Linked DNA regions of Homo sapiens: region 2 is linked to region 1. The links are contacts of gene promoters, found by promoter capture Hi-C in human tissues and cell types (Jung and others, 2019). All regions are on one chromosome and are shown on one strand. The core of a region is centred on a gene start or on the middle of the fragment in contact, and the rest is flanking DNA. Distances in the headings are between cores, read along the strand shown. Region 1 holds the start of PSMA6 (proteasome 20S subunit alpha 6). Region 2 overlaps CFL2 (cofilin 2).

What was found. Contacts are between HindIII fragments. The study calls those that stand out against the background at their distance.
Region 2: a fragment that was not itself captured here is called in contact with the fragment with the promoter of PSMA6 in region 1 in 1 of the 25 tissues and cell types used here (dorsolateral prefrontal cortex).

Annotation. Positions count from the first base shown.
Region 1 is chr14:35,290,963-35,293,940 of GRCh38, forward strand. PSMA6 (proteasome 20S subunit alpha 6) reads left to right here and starts at 1,420. Exons shown (of 7, transcript NM_002791.3): 1 at 1,420-1,590. The coding sequence starts at 1,515. All of the region lies in intron 9 of PRORP-PSMA6 (PRORP-PSMA6 readthrough), which reads left to right. RefSeq lists enhancers at 1,121-1,707, 1,424-1,503, 1,624-1,743, 1,824-1,883. The HindIII fragment of the contact is 27,585 bases long and covers 1-2,978 here.
Region 2 is chr14:34,709,000-34,711,977 of GRCh38, forward strand. It overlaps CFL2 (cofilin 2), which reads right to left. Exons shown (of 4, transcript NM_138638.5): 4 at 114-2,978. Among named protein-coding and RNA genes, the nearest start is that of CFL2, 4.1 kb to the right of the region's middle. The HindIII fragment of the contact is 3,096 bases long and covers 1-2,978 here.

The DNA of each region.
Region 1 (2,978 bases), core at 170-2,669:
CCCATTACTCGTATTTCAACCTCAGTTCCACATTTTTTTTTTTTTATTTAGATAGATCTTCCTCTGTCGCCCAGGCTGGAGTGCAGTGGCGTGATCATAGCTCACTGCAACCTGGATCTCCTGGGCTCAAGCCATCCTCCCACCTTAGCCCCCCGAGTAGCTGGGACTACTGGCGCGCGCCACCACGCACAGCTAATTTTATTTTTTGTAGAGACGGGGCCTTCCTATGTTGGCCAGGCTGGAGTTAGGCTTTCTTTCTTTTTTTTTTTTTTTGAGACGGAGTCTCGCTCTGTCGCCCAGGCTGGAGTGCAGTGGCATGATCTCGGCTCACTGCAAGCTCCGCCTCTCCGGTTCACGCCGTTCTCCTGCCTCAGCCTCCCAAGTATATGGGACTACAGGCGCCCGCCACCACGCCTGGCTAATTTTTTTTGTATTTTTTAGTAGAGACGGGGTTTCACCGTGTTAGCCAGGATGGTCTCAATCTCCTGACCTCGTGATCCGCCCGCCTTGGTCTCCCAAAGTGCTGGGATTACAGGCGTGAGCCACCGCGCCCGGCCTCCGCTTTCAAGACTAAAAATTGCCTGGGCACTGTGGCTCAAGCCTGTAATCCCAGCACTCTGGGAGGCCGAGGAAGGTGGATCACTTGGGCTCAGGAGTTCGAGAGCTGCCTGACCAACATGGCGAAACCCCGCCTCTACTAAAAATACAAAATTAGCCGGTCCTGGTGGCACACGCCTATAATCCCAGCTACTCGGGAGGATGAGGCAGGAGAATCGCTTGAACTCAGGAGGGGGAGGTTGCAGTCAGCCGAGATCGCGCCATTGCACTCCAGCCTGGGCAACAAGGGCGAAACTCTGTCTCAAAAAAAAAAAAAAAAAAAAAAAAGACTAAAAATTGTCGGGGCTGCTGGCCAAAAGAAGATCTTGCCTGGCTGTCAGAAAATAATGTTCTTTCCAGCGGCTGCTTGAACCCGCTTCCTTCAGTGCCTAAATTTAACGGCTGCAGCTGCAGCTGCAACCTGTTTCCCCCGTAATAGGAATGAAAGTGGAGGATAAAAGAGGTTAGGAAGAAGGCAAGCCAGCAGTCTGACCAGACACAGGATGCATGTAAGAGACTTGTTAATTACACGTTCTATTTAGGTCACACTGATAGGCAAATCGCTATTCTGGGCCCCCAGGAAGCCTTTTCGTCCTTGCTATAGTCAATTCATTCTCCAGATGAAAGCCTGAAAGCGCCACGACCCAAGTTTCACGTCTATCCACTCAAGAGGCCTGCTTGGCGCAGGCGCATACCTTCAAAGGCCTCCCGCCCTCACTCCACCACCCCCTTAGGGGGCGGGGCCTCAGAGCTCAGTGCTCGAACTGGCTCCAGAGCCGTGAGTTCGGCATGCAAGAGCGGAAGAAACGCGGCTGGTACCCCGGAAGCAGTCGCTGCAACTTCCGGGAGGTGCTTGTGTGCCTGGTGCGGGAGCTACGGGGCCCAGGGATTGTGTTTAAAGTAGTGCTTCTACCAACATGTCCCGTGGTTCCAGCGCCGGTTTTGACCGCCACATTACCATTTTTTCACCCGAGGGTCGGCTCTACCAAGTAGGTGAGTGAACCAGGTTCGCCTGTGGGCCACCTGAATTGCCCTGTCATGGTACGTGCCTGGAGCGAGCAGACGCGGCCCGGGTTTAGTCTGGGGCCGAAGCTGGGCTGGAGCTGGGAAGGGAGAACGGCTGAAGCTGGATTGAGCTCTGTGGTGTTTGCACCCCCGTCTGGACGCAGGGATCGGGGGCCTGAAGGCCTGTCTCTGCAGGGCGAGCGGCCACACTGCGTAGACCCAATGGAGAGTTAAGGAAGATAGGGCTGTAATGCCTGACTCCGGCTTCGTGAGGCCCCTTCAGTTATTGTATTCTGTCCTGGCCAGGCACAAGGTCTGTTTCTAAAGGGTAATTGATTCCTTAACGTCTCAACTAAAATGCCTCCTCTCCGTTTTCCTTTGTTTGCAGCATGGACTTCTGTGGTTAATTCCACACAGGCACTCGAAGCCTGCTATATACCAGACACTGCTAGTCCTAGGAGATACAAATGTGAATGTTACACCCTCTTCTATACTGAAGCTCACAGCTTAGAGTGACAGATACGTTAAACAAACGGATAAAAAAAATTAAAAGTGCCAATTTACAAATATCTACAGAGTTCAAGACATCTTTGGGAATCTGATAGAATGAGTGACTCAATTCTAGAGCTGCTCTTGAGATTGGCATCCCCTTTTTACCCACATCTGTTTGAATGCTCCTGTAATTTAAATGCCGATTCTGAGTTGTAGATGAGGTACTGTGTACTAGTTTACTGAAGAACACCTGTAGTGGAAAGAAACTATCAGTTACTCGGAATAGTAATGTATTGCGCTGAAACGGTGTCAAGGTTTAGGTTATGATTATAAGCCAGACCCTTGATCTCTTACCATAGAGAATTTAGTGTCAGGAGGGCTTGATTTACATCTGGTCCGTGATGGTTTTATTTTTGAATGAGTTTAGTGGCTCCGTGTCTTGCACAGTAATATAATCATCTGTGCTTGGAATCATAAGGAGAGAGTTGGTCTGTAAATGAGGTTCTCTTCACCTGTAAATTTTAGAAATAGAGTTAAAGATAACTTGGAATGAAACTGCTCAGTGTATTACTGCATAGTGTATATAATGTAGCAAGAAACATCTTGTTGGATAATTCAGTAGCCCTTTTAATTTATCCCCAATTGAAAAACATGATTAAAGATAGAACAAAGAGATAACTGTATCCTCAAAGAATTTTCATTTATTGTATTAAATTCCTGAGTTTTAAATAATTTTCGTATATTAGACTACTGCTTTCAGCGTTCCATTCGTGATTTTTAATATGTGAACAGGAAAAGTCACTCTGAGACCTTTACTTTGTTTCTATATACTGTATTGTGAAGTCCAGCCATAAAGCATAATCGTTAATGCTTCCCAGATTTGG
Region 2 (2,978 bases), core at 274-2,773, 580 kb before region 1:
GTCCAAAAAAGAAGAAAAAAATGTGTGTGTATGTGTGTATATATACATATATATATACATATATATATGTACACACACGGAAGTTACAAAAATAGAGGTTCAATGATCTGTAATACATCTTTTAACAAAAACATTTAATATTTATCTACTTACATACAGTAATTAAGAATGAATAGTTTAAACAGATTATTGCATTTACATAGCATTTTCCTGTTTTCAAAAACCATTTCCATATTTAGTACTCAGGAAACATGGTAAACAGATATTACCGTTCCCATACTATGGGTTAAAAAACTGAGATTTAGAGATTTAATTTGCCAAATTGCATTATGAGAGGAAATTTAAGTGGAGGGATGATTCCTCTACTTCTACATGGAAATAAAGCAATTAGTTGGATGTTCCAGAGCAAAAGAAAAGCCTCAGACTTCTTTATGGGCTGAAAGGAGACAGAACATCCATAAACTCATGCTGTCTTCAAAAGCAGTATTTGAGCTTTTGAAGTGGTGGCTCATGCATGCAATCCTAGCACTTTTGGGAGGCGGAGGTCAGAGGACAGCTTGAGCCCAGGAGTTGGAGATCAGCCTAGGCAACATGGCCAAACTCAGTCTCTACAAAAGAGATACAAAAAAAAAAAAAAAAAAAATTAGGCATGGTGGTGCATGCCTGTAGTCCCAGCTACTTGGGAGGCTGAGGTGGGAGGATCATCTGAGCTGGGAAGGTTGAGTTTGAAGTGAGCTGAAATTTTGACACTGCACTCCAGCCTGGGCAACAGAGTGAGACCCTGTCTCAAAAAAAAAAAAAAAAAAAGGCAACATTTACTGGGACCTGCCTGCCCACCTCTAGTAGCTTTAATACTATTCATAAAAAAATGAACATTCACGTTGTTTTGCATCTCCACCTACTATTAAATGTGCAAGCAAAAACAGGACCTATGAAGAGCAAAATGAGACTGTTTTTTCTGAGTGGCAAACCTAAGAGTCTTCTCAACCTCTTGATGATTTACCATTGTTGAGATTATTCCTTAACAAGAAAACACTTTTAAAAGAATTTCCTCCCAAAGCTTATTTGCCAGATTCCATAAATTAGCTGCTACAAATGTTCTGTATCAGAGAAACTCAAACCCAGTAAGAGGCTTCTCTTCCAATGTACGAAAAAGGCACATTTCAATACACAATGCTGGCCACACTATTTTAGATAATGATGGAAAACAACAGCTGATAGCCAGTTTGGGACACATGCCAACTGTTCCCATTTGTCTGAAAATGCTAAAATTAATTGCTGTAACACTCAGTTTTTAAAGAAAATTGTTATTGATAAATGAGAAAGTATTACCAACTAAAATCCTGAAAAACAGAATAAAGATAATGATGCCTCTTTGATCTGAAATACCAGTTTTTAAACTTTTAATGTTCTGAAGTATAAGTAAACACATCTCAACAGCTTTACATATTTTCATATATTTTATTTTTTAAACTCTCATAACTTTGCAAGCTAGCAGTAAAATATTGCCTTCAATATTTTACTAATTAGCACCGTATACCTTTTAAAGCTAACTGGAACATTGATTCATTATAAATGATTGTAAAATAAAATGATCATTTCAAATGCCAAATTAATCTCAAATAACAAGTGAACTATTATTAATTTTATCTCTTTTTTTGGCTCTACGCACAAAGATGTATTTCAAAGATGAACTTAATTATATTAGTATCAGTTTTGTCAATCTAGCAAATCAAAGTATCACAGTTTAAAGCAATATTTAATCTCTGAAATTACTAGAGGCATACAAGAAAGTTAAGGAATCAGCTACAAAAACAAAAGATACTACATAACTGATTTATAGTCCCTTATTTTTTAAAAGAATGAGGAAATAACTCAATGAAAAATTCCATGGTGCCAAGTATCAGTTACACATATGGTTAAGTATACGTCAGTATTCTCTGTTTTGCTTATCAGAGTTTGGCCTTACCAAAAACCATCGAAATGTCCAGGATAACTCACAGGGACAGCTGGAAGCCTGAAATAAAATTGCTCAGTGCAAAAAGATCCCAAACCATTCATATAATTTTAAATGGAAGCCTAGACATTTAATCCCTATTTTTAATGTTCACATCTGAAAAATCTTTCAAAAATATGGAAAAAATCTAATTATACTAAAATTACTTCCACACATTCAAAAAAAATTTTTAAGGGATATTTTCTTTCCTGTTTTCTGCTAAAAGCATTCCTCTGAGCTATGGGGTTAAGTTCTGAGCCACGACTGACTGCTTACTAGCATGCCTGTTTTGCATACCAGTAGAATCAAGTCCAGTTTTGCCATTTGTGGATAACTATGACAAGATACAAAAGCATGTGTTTGCCATAAATAGCCCTGGCTAACAGCAAACCGCTCACACTGAGCAGATCAAATTCTCTATAAGGAGCACAGTCTGGACCATAGCCAAATCCCACTACTAATGTTTAAGACTGCTATTATCAATTCCTATTCCAATTCAATTTGCAAAATATATTCAGAAATAGTAGGTGAAATGACTGTTCCGAAACATCAGAAGTATCATTAAACTTTTAAAGGACATTTTACAAATTATTTTCATTACGACCAAATAAGCAATAAGAGCTTCCTGCTTCTACTATACAACTACTTAGAAATGTAAATGTGAATAAAAAAATAACTATGCTAATTTATCCAGAGAACAAATCAGATATTGAAAAGTATTTATGCCAAAGTGCAAAAAATAATTTCTGATCTTCATATTAACACATAGGAAATAAATACACTAATGTTTATAAAAGTACCATTCTTTAACAATGGTATTTTATATTAGTTGGCCTTAAGATAGAATACTTTTTAAACCAAATAGATCCAACAAATCTGGAAAATATCACACATGAATGCTGTACAAAAAAAATTCTCAAATGACCAGTGCAGAGATTAGTAATAGCTGTTTTTACCCTAGAAGTTGTTTCACATAACATTT